3 separate regions of the Homo sapiens genome follow, and regions 2 and 3 are each linked to region 1. Evidence: promoter capture Hi-C in human tissues and cell types (Jung and others, 2019). All regions are on one chromosome and are shown on one strand. Each heading gives the region's core, a stretch centred on a gene start or on the middle of the fragment in contact. The rest is flanking DNA. Distances are from core to core; before and after follow the strand shown. Region 1 holds the start of FOXJ1 (forkhead box J1). Region 2 overlaps ST6GALNAC2 (ST6 N-acetylgalactosaminide alpha-2,6-sialyltransferase 2). Region 3 overlaps UBE2O (ubiquitin conjugating enzyme E2 O).

Region 1 (4,270 bases), core at 582-3,081:
CAGAAATACTCCATCCAAGGAGCTGGTCCTCAGTCAGCCTGATGAGGACAGGTCAGTGGCCAACCCTTTTGCCCCAGTCCTTCATCTGGAGACAGTCACATAGTCACGTCAACAGTTCACCCAAAGAGAAGAGGTGGGGCCTGGCTTCTCCCACAGGGCACAGCCTAACTATGGAGACCCAGGGCTCCTTCCTGCTGCACTAGGCCTGTGCTCTCCCTATTGCCTTCAGGTGGTGTGATCCCGGCTTCCTCACAGAGCCCTTTTTTCCTTCTGCCCAGCTCCATCCCACCAGAGTTTCTACCCCCGCTGAGGCATCTCCTGGGCACAGACCACCACACTCTAAGCCGGCTGGCCTGGGAGTTAGGGTCCTGCCCACCTCACCTGGGAGTTGGGGTCCTGCCCACCTGGAGTTTAGCACGCTGGTCGCTCACTTTGCTTTGGTCTGCACACCTGGTGTGTGCATGTGTATACTGCTTGTGCCATCTGTGTACCCCTCTCCCTGGAGTACACTTGTGGTCACACTACAGTGGGGACATCAAGAATGCAATATTTATGGATTGCTGCATGATTCTTAAAAATGAATAAAACTGTTTACAAGGGAAGGAGAGCTAACTGCAAAGTGAGCTTATCTGTGAAAGTTTCTGTCTGACTTTCGCCAGCACTCTTTAATACTTTTACTCAAGAGGATCTGGAGTTGGAGGAGTGGGAGAGGCAAGGGCTAGGGAAAGGCATGTTGGCGGGGGAGTGATGCGCCATAGCCGGGCCTTCTTCATGGTCTGGGCACCAGCCTCCCCGACCCCGGCTCTCCAGCTCCTGGGCAGAGGCGGGGTAATCAACCCAGCCCCCACCACTGCCTCTGCAGCCGCCTTAAACCGGAGAACGTCCAACCCTGCAGCTCCTCAATAATTAAAGAGCAGGAAAGCTGGTGACAGGAGGGAGGCCAGGGGAAGGGAGGAGGAAGGGACACAGTCCCCAGAGTCCCTCTACTCTTAATCCCTGTGACTTAAAGGTTGGTGAAATTAATTGGGCAAATGACCCCGCTAGGAGAATTTGACAAGTCCATGACTTCAGAGTTTTACCCACGGGCTCTGCTTCATCAGCTGTCTCCAGAGGAGTGAGTGCGCTTCTGCAGAAGCCTCTGGAATGTCAGCTTCCTGGAACCTCGAGGATACGGGTGGGGAAGGAGCTGCTTACTGGGACACACTGGATTACCCTACCCCCTTGGTGTGTCTGCCGCCTCTGTGGATGTAAGCGGCAGGTGGCATCGGAAAGTCAGACCTGCCTGGGACACCAGAGAAAGACCCTAAGAGTCGGGGGAGAGGGAAAGGCTGCAGAAACATGAGAAAGTGCCACTCGTAGCGGAGAGGAAAGAAAACCTCAAGGATACGGTTCCCGAGCCTGAGCCCGCTCCCAGCCTTAGCCCCCCAACCCCAGGCTCCGTCCCAGGAGCAGTCGACGCCTCAAAGCGTACGGGACAGGAAGGGGGTGGGGGCGAGAGTCTTGGTTCCCCAGAACGAACGGATCCATAGCGGTTCCCGGTGCCGCAGGCCGCGCGCTTCTCCGACCCCAGCGCGGGGCCCTCGGGCGGGAATGAGCCGAGCCGGGACTTAGCGGCGGGTAGGGGGTTGGGTGGCGCGGGAGAGGGCGGCAGAAGGAGGGAGTTCGAAGAGAGTTGCCGCCAGGGAGAGTGGCAAGTGCCCGCGGTCTCCTTGGAGACGTGCTGGCCAATGGCAGAGGCGGAAGCTGTTTATGGGGGCGGAGCGTCGCCATGGCAGCAGGAGAAGCCTTTGGAGCGGCTACTTAATGCCGGTCCCGGGGCCGCGGTAGCTCAGAGAAGCGCCGTCGGGCGGGGGGGCGGCAAGAGGCGCTGGCAGGGCCCCCGAGCTGGGGGCAGAGAGCCGCAGGGGGTGGGAGCAACTTCTTCCAGAACCTTCCTCTGGCCCGGGCTGCGCTCTGAGCCAGGTAAGGGATGGGGAGGGCTGCAGGCCAGGGGGAAGGGTGGGCAACGGTACCAACCCGCTCTCTCATTCGTCCTTAACGGAAGTGGTGGGCCCAGGGACTGACATCGGAGAAGTCTGGGGGAAACTCGCCTCCTGCCCCCCGTTACTGTTCCGTCCCCTTCCTTCCCAATGATCCCCTATCATAATATTCCTTTTCAAGGATCAGAGGACCTCCACCGCCCCCGCCCCGTCGTACCGCCCTCCCAAACTTCTCGCCCCACTTCCATTTGTTGCGAGGAGGAAGGGGGTCCTGATTTCCTGCTCTTCGGGAGAAAAGGATAGCCTCGGATGCCCCTACCCTCTTCATTTGGCTAATAAAACCTCGAAGAGGAAAGGAAGAGGGAGGCAGATCTGATGGGGGTGGGACCCCAGGGCCTTGCTTCTGTTTCCCATACCTCGGCACTAAAAGATCCTCCCCAGCTGCGGGGATGATGTTAGAGAGGGCGTCCCCGTACACACACTGTCCCCTCGGGGGTGGGGTAGTGCTCAGCTCCCACCGTGGTCCTCGCAGGCACCACATACTTATTCGGAGGAGGCGCCCCCGGGGTCGCGAGATGGAAGCGCGCGTCCGGGAGGCCGTGTAACGGGAGCTGCGGGACTCAGCGGGCCAGAGAGCGCGGCGGGCCACCCCCGGCTCAGCCCGTGGATGCTGACCGCCCCCTCGGAGAGTCCCCGCAGACATGGCGGAGAGCTGGCTGCGCCTCTCGGGAGCCGGGCCGGCGGAGGAGGCCGGGCCGGAGGGCGGCCTGGAGGAGCCCGACGCCCTGGATGACAGCCTGACCAGCCTGCAGTGGCTGCAGGAATTCTCCATTCTCAACGCCAAGGCCCCCGCCCTGCCCCCGGGGGGCACCGACCCCCACGGCTACCACCAGGTGCCAGGTTCAGCGGCGCCCGGGTCCCCCCTGGCGGCCGACCCCGCCTGCCTGGGGCAGCCACACACGCCGGGCAAGCCCACGTCGTCGTGCACGTCGCGGAGCGCGCCCCCGGGGCTGCAGGCCCCACCCCCCGACGACGTGGACTACGCCACCAATCCGCACGTGAAGCCTCCCTACTCGTATGCCACGCTCATCTGCATGGCCATGCAGGCCAGCAAGGCCACCAAGATCACCCTGTCGGCCATCTACAAGTGGATCACGGACAACTTCTGCTACTTCCGCCACGCAGATCCCACCTGGCAGGTAGAGGAGGCACGGGCGGCGGCCGCTCCCTCCCCATTCCCTCCTCGCTCCCCACGCTGCACTGGATTCATATCCCAAATCTGCAGGCCAAGTAGGCTCTGCGGTGCGGCCAGCGCCCCAGAAGGGAGCCCTGCAAAGGAGCCCAGTTCTTGCAACTGCCCCTCCTTTGACTTCCAGAGAGAGAGAGAGAGAGAAGGGAGAATGTCCAGAGGTGGAGGGCTTTAGGGGTGCAGAGGCTGAGATTCAAGGGGAAATAACCTGCCATTCATCCAGCAGGCCCAGGCCAAAGACCAGGGCTAGACTCTGCGTGGACAGAATCTCCTTGGGGAGAGCGATGAACTGAAGGCGCATTCTTGTCCCAAGTCCTAGAATTCCTAGACACTGCCCTGCCCCGGGATGGTTTGTCGGGGCCGGGAGTCAGAAACGGAAACTGGAACGTGGCCTCCCTGCCAGGCTCTACGTCCTGCCCTTTTGCAGTTGGCTTGGGGAGGGTGGAATGGAAGGGGTGCCTTAGCATGTGAGGGCCAGGTGTGTCCCAATGGAGGGTGGAGGGGGTAAGGGGCCTTCCTAAAGCTGCTGTCCCAGCCCCCCACCTCAACCTCTGCTCAGTTTCCTGCCTCCAACCCCCGCTGTCAGCCAACCTCCCTGGGGGGACAATTACCTGAGCCAGGTGCCTTCCACTGGGGCTCTGCCTACCACACTCACTTCGTGTTCCACGTCTCTGGAACCAGGCACTGAGCAGCCAAGGGGCCCAGGCCACCATGTAAACATCCCAGCCTTGCTGCCGGGCATTATCCACCCACCTGCCCTGCCGTCCCAGCCCAGGACCCCTGTCCCCCAGCAGGCTTTGGACAAGATTAAGCACCTAAGAATGGACAAGGCAGGAGGATGGTGGATTTGAGGCTGGGTAGGCAGTGCCCTAAGAGTCTTCAGCCATCACCATCAAGGGCTAGTTGGAGTCAGGGGCCCCCCAAGGACGCCCAGACTCTTCCCTGAAGCACCCAAAGCGGGCAGGCCACAGGACCGCAGTCCCAAGCCATTTCCAATGCCCCTGACCCTAGAGCAGGGTCATTTGCAGCTGCACCGAAAAAG
Region 2 (4,270 bases), core at 1,297-3,796, 430 kb before region 1:
TTAGGCAGGCATGGTGGCGGGCTCCTGTAATCCCAGCTACTTGGGAGACTGAGGCAGAATTGCTTGAACCCAGGAGACGGAGGTTGCAGTGAGCTGAGATCGTGCCACTGCACTCCACCGTGAGTGACAGAGCGAAACTCCGTCTCAAAAAAAAAAAAAAAAAAAATACAGAGGCCAATGGGCACTTGGCCGGCAGGCTGAAGAGAGGCCTTGAGCACCTTAGGAGTGCTTGGACCAGGTCATCTTCAAGCTTCCTAAACTCTTTTCCACCTTGAGCCTTGAGCTGTTCATTGCTAACTGACGTATGTCCCCACCTGGTCTAAACCAAAGGGTCTGAGGTGGCTTTTGGACACATATAAGAAGACAAAAACGGCCAGGCGCAGTGGCTCATGCCTGTAATCCCAGCACTTTTGGGAGGCCGAGGTGGGTGGATCACCTGAGATCAGGAGTTCAAGACCAGCCTGGTCAACATGGTGAAACCCTGTCTCTACAAAAAATACAAAAAATTAGCCAGGCATGGTGGCAGGCGCCTGTAATCCCAGCTACTTGGGAGGCTAAGGCAGGAGAATCACTTGAACCTGGGAGGTGGAGGTTGCAGTTAGCTGAGATCATGCCATTGTACTCCAGCCTGGGCAACAAGAGCGAAACTCCGTCTCAAAAAAAAAAAAAAAAAAAAGAAAAAAAAGAATTTGTTAATTTGTTCCAACAAGATTGACATATTAGGAAACAATCTGAGCATCACATACATTTTGCATTTTTTTTTTTTTTTGAGATGGAGTTTCGCTCTTGTTGCCCAGGCTGGAGTGCAATGGCGCCATCTTGGCTCACTGCAACCTCCGCCTCCCACGTTCAAGCAATTCTTGTGCCTCAGCCCCCCAAGTAGCTGGAATTACAGGGATGTGCCACCACACCAGGCTAATTTTGTATTTTTAGTACAGACAGGGTTTCACCACGTTGCTCAGGCTGGTCTCAAACCCCTGAACTTAGGTGATCCACCCACCTCTGCTTCCCAAAGTGCTGGGATTATAGGCATGAGCCACCGTGCCCGGCCTGGATTTTTTTTTGAGTGGTTTTGTCAGTGAAAACTCTAGGTTAACATAGAAACCACACCCAACTCAGCAGAGCCATGTAGGAATACACAAAAAGTACACACATGCACACCTGAAATCTCCATCAGCTTCACCGAGTGTGTTATGGGTTCACCTGCCCTAGTGAGTCTGGTGGCACAATTCCCTCCGATTTCAGACAACTTCTTTCCACCATTTCACAATATCACACAAACTGCCCCCTTCCGACACCCACTTCCACACCCACTTCCACATCAATCTCAAGTATTCTTTAACCACGGGACATCAGTAAAACTGTGCTTCTGTCTTTCTTCGATTTGTATCTTTGGTTTTACGCATTCCTGACAGCGTTTCAGTGTTATGTCACTCATCCCATGTTCTCATAGGCCCGTGGTTTTTCGTTTTGCTATTGTTGTTTTGTTTTGTTTTTGAGATGGGGTCTCACTCTGTTGCCCAGGCTGCAGTGCAGTCTCAGTAGCTCACTGCAGCCTCAATCTCCCAGGTTCAAGCAATCCTCCCACCTCAGCTTCCCAAGTAGCTGGGACCATAGGTCTGGGCCACCATGCCTGGCTAATGAAAAAACATTTTTTTGCAGACATGGGGTCTTGTTATGTTGACCAAGCTAATCTGGAAACTCCTGGCCTCAAGTTATCCTCCCGCCTTGACCTCCCAAAGCGCTGGCATTAGAGGGGTGAGCCCCCATGCCCAGCTACCCCATGATCATGATTGCATAGCTTTGCATAGCATGGTGATATTTAGCCACTCATAAGTTGCATTATAGCAGAAATTACTGTACAGCTATTTCCTGCTTTGTCTTTTGATCAAACGAATGGCTTAACAAAGAGCCCCATTCAGGAGTAATAGAAGGCCCACCCAGGCCATGACTGTGTGTGATTCTGAACTTGTGGGGTCACGGGCAGACAAGGCTGGGGCCTGTTTCCTGACCTCACCCTCCCTCAAGGCCCACAAGTACAGAGGTGCTGTGTTCCTTCCCCGTGGCTGCTGGAACAAATGATCACAGCCTGGGGGGCTTCGATCCACAGAAATTGAATCGTCACAGTTCTGGAGCCCAGAAGCCCAGAATCAAGGTGCTGGCAGGGCCACGCTCCCTCCGAAGGCTCGAAGAAAGCCTCCCCTGCCTTTTCCCAGCTCTGGCGGCTCCACTGCTCTTTGGCTTATGGTGCATCGCACAGATCCCTGCTTCATCATCACCCGGCCTCTTTCCACGGATGCTAGTTAGGGCCTGACCTCACCCTATATGACCTCCTCCTAACTAATTCCATCTCCAAAGACCCTAGTTCCAACTAAGGTCACATTCCAAGGCTCTGGGTAATGAATTTTGGGGGGACACTTCCACTCCCTAAAGGCACCACTGGAAAGAAAGACTATCACGGATCTTCCTGGCAGCCTGTTCACACACAAATTATACAGCGAGTACCAGTAGGGTTAGGGTTTTGCATCCAGGGTGACAGCCTCAGCTCAGCCCAGGCTGAAACTACTCCACCAAAGGGCAGGCAGGTCAGACCCATACATCAGAAAATGCCCCAGAGTTTGCTCAAGCGTGAGATGAAGGAGTGTGAGGCCAGAACCACCAGGCCAAGGGGACATGGCCTCTGGGAGAGGAAGAGCTAGGCAGGCTAAATCCAGAAAGTTCCCAGACCCCCTAGCTGCCAGCTCAGTTCAAAAATGCAAGGATGGGCCAGGCGCGGTGGCTCACGCCTGTAATCCCAGCACTTTGGGAGGCCGAGGCGGGTGGATCACGAGGTCAGGAGATCAAGACCACCCTGGCTAACATGGTGAAACCCCGTCTCTACTAAAAATACAAAAAATTAGCCGGGCGTGGTGGCGGGCGCCTGTAGACCCAGCTACTCGGCAGGCTGAGGCAGGAGAATGGCGTGAACCCGGGAGACGGAGCTTGCAGTGAGCCGAGATGGGGCCACTGCACTCCAGCCTGGGCGACAGAGCGAGACTCTGTCTCAAAAAAAGAAAAAAAAAAATGCAAGGATGGCCCCAATCTGGAGGGGACAGGGCAGGCCTTCCCTCACAACTCGCAACTCCCCTGCAGGGTCTGCAGGGCCCCACCCACCCCAGCCCCTACCTAACGGGGCTCAGCCCTCACCTTCTCACCCACAGGGCCAGGCCTGCCGACACCTGCTTCACCTGGCCATTCAGCGGCACCCCCACTTCCGTGGCCTGTTCAATCTCTCCATTCCAGTGCTGCTGTGGGGGGACCTCTTCACCCCAGCGCTCTGGGACCGCCTGAGCCAACACAAAGCCCCGTATGGCTGGCGGGGGCTCTCTCACCAAGGTAACCCGCGCCCGCTGTCTCTCACCTGCCTTCTGCCTTAGCTTCCTGCTCTTTGCCCTGAAGTAGGCCAGGCCTCTCTGCCCTCATAGCACTGGTGATGCCAGGTCTCCCTGTCCCCCTCTCTCCTCCCAGAAGCCCCAGCTATGCAACTCCTGCCTCACCTCCCTCCTCCGTCCAAGCACCCAGGGGTCAGTGAGAGTCATGGGGCTGCCCCCGCCAGTGGGCCTCACCATCCTGGGGCCTCCCTGGCAAGAAAGGCTGCAGCGTCCAATGGTGGCCAAGGACAGAGGCTGTGGGGCCTCAAACCACCTCACTCACGGTTGCTGCTGCAGGAACCCCCACACTGCAGGCCCAGAGCCCCCTCTACATTATACCTGCACCCAAACCCCCACAGGCCTCCGATTCTTTTCTTTTGCAATATACAGTCTTTTTTATTTTTGAGATGGAGTCTCGCTCTGTCACTCAGGCTGGAGTGCAATGGCACAATCTCAGCTCACTACAACCTCCGCCTCCCGGGTTCAAGTGATTCTTGTGCCTCAGCCTCCCAAGTAGCTGGGATTAGGCACGCACCACCACGCCTGGCTAATTTTTGTATTTTTAATAGAGACATGGTTTCACCATGTTGCCCAGGCTGGTCTCGAACTCCTGGCCTCAAGTGATTCACCCACCTCACCCTTCCAAAGTTCTGGTATTACAGGTGTGAGCCACCGTGCCCAGCCCAGTCTTTTTTAAGCCCTGAGCTCACTTCTCTAGCACCAGTCTTAAGAAGATAAGGTATTCAAGTTCTTAAGACAAGTGAAGGCCGCCAAGCCCCCTCTTCCACTGTCAGCTTTTCAATTCTCCCCCCACAGACATCTCCTTCCCCTCCCACCCTCTGTGCTTCTTGGGAGGGGCT
Region 3 (4,270 bases), core at 810-3,309, 290 kb before region 1:
GCCTGCAGAACCCGAATTGGCATTTGTCATCAGGGTCAGAGGTATCAGTGGTGTGAGCCCAAAGGGCCAAAAGATGTTGCAGCTTCTTTGCCTTTGTCAGATCTTTAATGGAACCTTTGTGAAGTTCAGCAGACCTTCAGTTAACATGCTGAGGATTGTGAAACCATGTATTACAAGGGGAACCCAAATCTGAAATCAGTAAATAAACTCATCTACAAGCATGGCCGTGGCAAAATCAATAAGAAGCGAATTGCTTTGACAGATAACACTTTGATTGATCAGTCTCATGGTCAATATGGCATCATCTGCATCGAGGATCTGATTCATGAGCTCTATACTGTGGCCCTTCAAGTTATCCTCTCCACAAAGTGGAATGAAGAAAAAGACCACCCATTTTGTAGAAAATGGAGCTGCTGCCAACAGGGAGGGCCAGATCCACAGGCTTCTTAGAAGAATGAACTGCGGTGTCTACCGTGATTATTTTTCTAATCTGGTCAGTTAATAAATAGTACCTGCTCTCAAATTGAAAAAAAAAATCTTCGGTTAGCATACTTTAGGTAAACATGGTAGATTGAACATATTCATTTAAATCTACTTCCCCTAGAAACTCTGCTAAAATAACAGCAAAATAATTGTTTTTAGATGTATAAACCCACAAGGACACAGAATGGGAGAGAAAACAATAACAAAAGATCTCCAATTTCTAGAAGGTGGAAGGCAAACAGAAGACTGAGCAGAGCAGAGGCTGAAATGTTGGTACCTGCGGAAAAACACCAAGGAAAAGCACTTTAGAAAGCATCAGGAATTGGAGGCAATTGGTGGCACTCAAGGTGGGAATAAGGTTTGGGCCTAAAAGCAGAGGGATTATGATTAGTTGACAGTCTGTATAGGGAGGGATGAAACTTCCCAAGTCATCTCTTTGAATTCTGCAAACCAGAAAATACTCAATCCCCTTTGCTGGCGAGTGAGAGAGCAGAGGCTTATGCACCAGATTGAGGTACCTTGGGCAGAGCAAGGGGCAGGGTAACGCTGGACTGAAAGAGGGATTCATGAACGTCTGCACACTAAAAGAGCAAATCCCAGCCATGCCCCTGCCTGCTCCTGGAGTGCTGAGGCCAGGCATGAGGCATGGCATTGGATTCCAGTCTGGAAAAAATGAGCATGTCAGCAACAAGACCTGCCATTGCCAGTATGTAGTGGCTCCTCACAGCAGTGGCCAGCTTTCTACTCCATCTAATGTGGTCCTCACCTGTCCAGAGCCTTGCTTATGTTCACAGGGTTTCTATCATCTTTTTATCACCTCAACTTTTTTAACTTTTTTTTTTTTTTTTTTTTTTTGAGACAGAGTCTCACTCTGTCACCCAGGCTGGAGTACAGTGGTGTAATCTTGGCTCACTGCAACCTCTGCCTCCCAGGCTGAAGCACTTCTCCCACCTCAGCCTCCCAAGTAGCTGGGATTACAGCCATGCGCCACCACTCCTGGCTAATTTGTGTGTTTTTTGTCAAGATGGGGTTTTGCCATGTTGCCTAGGCAGGTTTCAAACTCCTGAGCTCAAGTGATCTGCCCACCTCAGCCTCACAAAGTGCTGGGATCACAGGCATGAGCCACCATCCCCAGCCCAACTTTTTATTTTGAAATAATTATAGATGCATAGGAAGTTGCAAACATAGTAGAGGGCTGGCTGGACGCGGTGGCTCATGCCTGTAATCCCAGCACTTTGGGAGGCCGAGGCGGGCAGATCACGAGGTCAGGAGTTCGAGACCAGCCTGGCCAACATGGTTAAACCCCGTCTCTACTAAAAATACAAAAATTAGCCGGGCATGGTGGCATGCGCCCGTAATCCCAGCTACTCGGGAGGCTGAGGCAGGAGAATTGCTTGAACCCAGGAGGCAGAGGTTGCAGTGAACCAAGATCATGCCACTGCACTCCAGCCTGGGCGACAGAGCAAGACTCCATCTCAAAAAAAAAAAAAAAAATAGTAGAGGGGTCCCCTCTACCCTTCATGCAGTTTCCCTTGATGGTCATGTCTTATATAATCACAGACAATATGAAAATCAGGGAATTGACATGGGTACACAATATGTGCATACAGTTTCACACCCTTTATCACATCTGTGGATTCATGTAACCACATGTAACAGCAGTCAAGATACACAACTCTTCCATCACCACAAAGATCTCTTATTGCCTCACTTTTAAATAGGAATGGATGCCAAGAATAACTGGATATGTTCAGAAAGCTTCCAGTATGGAAGGTAGAGGCCAGAGAAAGCAAAGAGAAAAATGTATCTCCGAGGAATCAGAGCTGATTCAGGTAGGAGAAAGCCTTAAAGCACATGGCAAATATACTCAGAAAGAAGAGCCAATATTTTATCCATGAAATAAAAAGTTACTATAAAAATCAGAACAAGAAAGAGTTCTCGGAAATTAAAACCATTACTTTTTCTTTGAAGTTGACGAAGGCTCCCAGGAAACAGATTAAAAACGTCTGACATCTAGGAAGTCTATAAAGAGAGAAAGGGAAAATTAAGGACCATAATGTATCAGAGAAACAAGAATTATTTCAGAATGGACAGTCATAAGTTTCAAAAATGGTAAATGGAAAATGTCCTGTGGCACATTGTGTGATTCCAGAGCACTGGGCATAAAGCTTCCGAAGAGCAAAAACGGGTCACATACAAAAGACTGGGAATGAAGATGGATTGGATTTTTCAACCTCATTGGAAGCCAGAAGACAATGGGGTGGATTTCCTGTTTCAGTGACATGGTAGCTTGAGCTAAAGTTAGAACCGCTCCCATTACAATCACTTAAAATGCTATATAAGCTATAACAACAGAATAAGAAAGAAAAACAGAGAACCGAAAGCAAAGCAGGAATATAAAGCCAGAGCAGAGTAGGCAGCTCTGGGGAGGGGCAAGGTGGGTTCATTGGACCCTGAAATCGACCCTAACAATAATAGAGGTTTGGATTTGCATGAACACGTGAAGCATGGAGTTGAAACAGAAATCCCCTCAAAAGAGCCATTCCCAGGTAAAAGGGATGCAAGAAAATTTCCCCCATGGGATCAGAGAAATGTCAAGGGAGCTGATCATTGCCCCACACTCTGGATTGTGTTGGAGGAAGTCTTCTGTGAACAGTGGAAAACATCCAAGTTCTAAGTCTGTGTTTATAACATCTACATGTTGCAGGAATGCCCGAGCTGGCACCAGACCAGCCAGCAGACTGGCGATACCCCTGAAGCTTCTTGCTTGCAGAACAAAGGCAGAACTTTTCTAGAGTGACCCTTGCACAGTACAGGCCTTTTGGAATCCTAGGATGCCCACAGATGATGAGCTTGTTCTAGGAAATTACCAAGCATGTAGAAATTAGAACATGAGTCAGCGATCACAACAAACACAAGATTCTCAACATGAGAATTCAAATAATAGAAGAGATTATAATAGAAATGTCTAAAGTGATTGAAGGGCTAAAAGAAGAAATAGATGTCAAAGGAAAGAATAAGACAGAATACATCTTAAAAGGGATTATTTTTTAAAGAATCAAATAAAGCCTCTAGAGTGAAAACATTGAGTTAAAACCCCAGTGGAAATGTTAAACAGCAAATAGCATAAATTCTCAAGAGAGAACTATGGGAACTGGAAAACAGATCTGCAGAAGTTAGTTAGAATTCTGCAGAGATAAAAGAGATGCTTGTGAGGAAGAGACATTACAAACATGGATGGTGGTATGAGGGCCCAGTGGGAAAAATAGCATCCTAAAGGCAGCTTGAGAAGAAAGGCAGATTACTCCCCAGGTTCAACAGTGAAACTCAGGAAATGCCAAGTAGCAACAGTAGAGGCCATAAGGAAGTAAAATCTTCAGTGTGCTAAGGAAAATCAGTTGTTGGCTTAGTTTTCAGCAACCAGCTTAAATTATCGTTCAATAATGGGAACAAATAAGGACATTTTCACAGAAAAAAAAAAAAGTTGTATTTACTAAGAGACCTTCGCTGTACTTCGGGAAGAAGGAAGTAAGGAGAAAGGAGAAATGCGGACAGTAATGGTATCCAGAGGCGTTGGGAAGTGCAGGTAAATCTGAATAAGCATTCGCTTCTGAAAGTGATCGTCACTAATTTGGAGAGGATTAAAAACCAAAGTCCCAACAAAAAATGGAAATCAGTGAGGGGGTGATTTGAATGAACACACTCTTAAGTTCTTTGAACTGTTTGGGAAGTGTAGGAGGGATATTGATTGACTTCAAACTTTCTGAGTCAAGTAGACATGTTCCAA

The links. Contacts are between HindIII fragments. The study calls those that stand out against the background at their distance.
Region 2: a fragment that was not itself captured here is called in contact with the fragment with the promoter of FOXJ1 in region 1 in 1 of the 25 tissues and cell types used here (dorsolateral prefrontal cortex).
Region 3: a fragment that was not itself captured here is called in contact with the fragment with the promoter of FOXJ1 in region 1 in 2 of the 25 tissues and cell types used here (dorsolateral prefrontal cortex and heart right ventricle).

What each region holds. Positions count from the first base shown.
Region 1 is chr17:76,138,806-76,143,075 of GRCh38, reverse strand. FOXJ1 (forkhead box J1) reads left to right here and starts at 1,831. Exons shown (of 3, transcript NM_001454.4): 1 at 1,831-1,962; 2 at 2,512-3,178. The coding sequence starts at 2,681. It overlaps RNF157 (ring finger protein 157), which reads left to right. Exons shown (of 19, transcript NM_052916.3): 19 at 1-602. It overlaps RNF157-AS1 (RNF157 antisense RNA 1), which reads right to left and starts at 2,520. Exons shown (of 8, transcript NR_040017.1): 1 at 2,396-2,520. RefSeq lists silencers at 1,836-1,995, 2,674-2,743, 2,804-2,993 and an enhancer at 3,405-4,064. The HindIII fragment of the contact is 16,722 bases long and covers 1-4,270 here.
Region 2 is chr17:76,573,470-76,577,739 of GRCh38, reverse strand. ST6GALNAC2 (ST6 N-acetylgalactosaminide alpha-2,6-sialyltransferase 2) reads left to right here. Exons shown (of 9, transcript NM_006456.3): 3 at 3,201-3,375. Among named protein-coding and RNA genes, the nearest start is that of ST6GALNAC2, 10 kb to the left of the region's middle. The HindIII fragment of the contact is 6,838 bases long and covers 1-4,270 here.
Region 3 is chr17:76,426,610-76,430,879 of GRCh38, reverse strand. All of the region lies in intron 1 of UBE2O (ubiquitin conjugating enzyme E2 O), which reads left to right. It also overlaps the pseudogene RPL7P49. Among named protein-coding and RNA genes, the nearest start is that of UBE2O, 24 kb to the left of the region's middle. The HindIII fragment of the contact is 3,437 bases long and covers 341-3,777 here.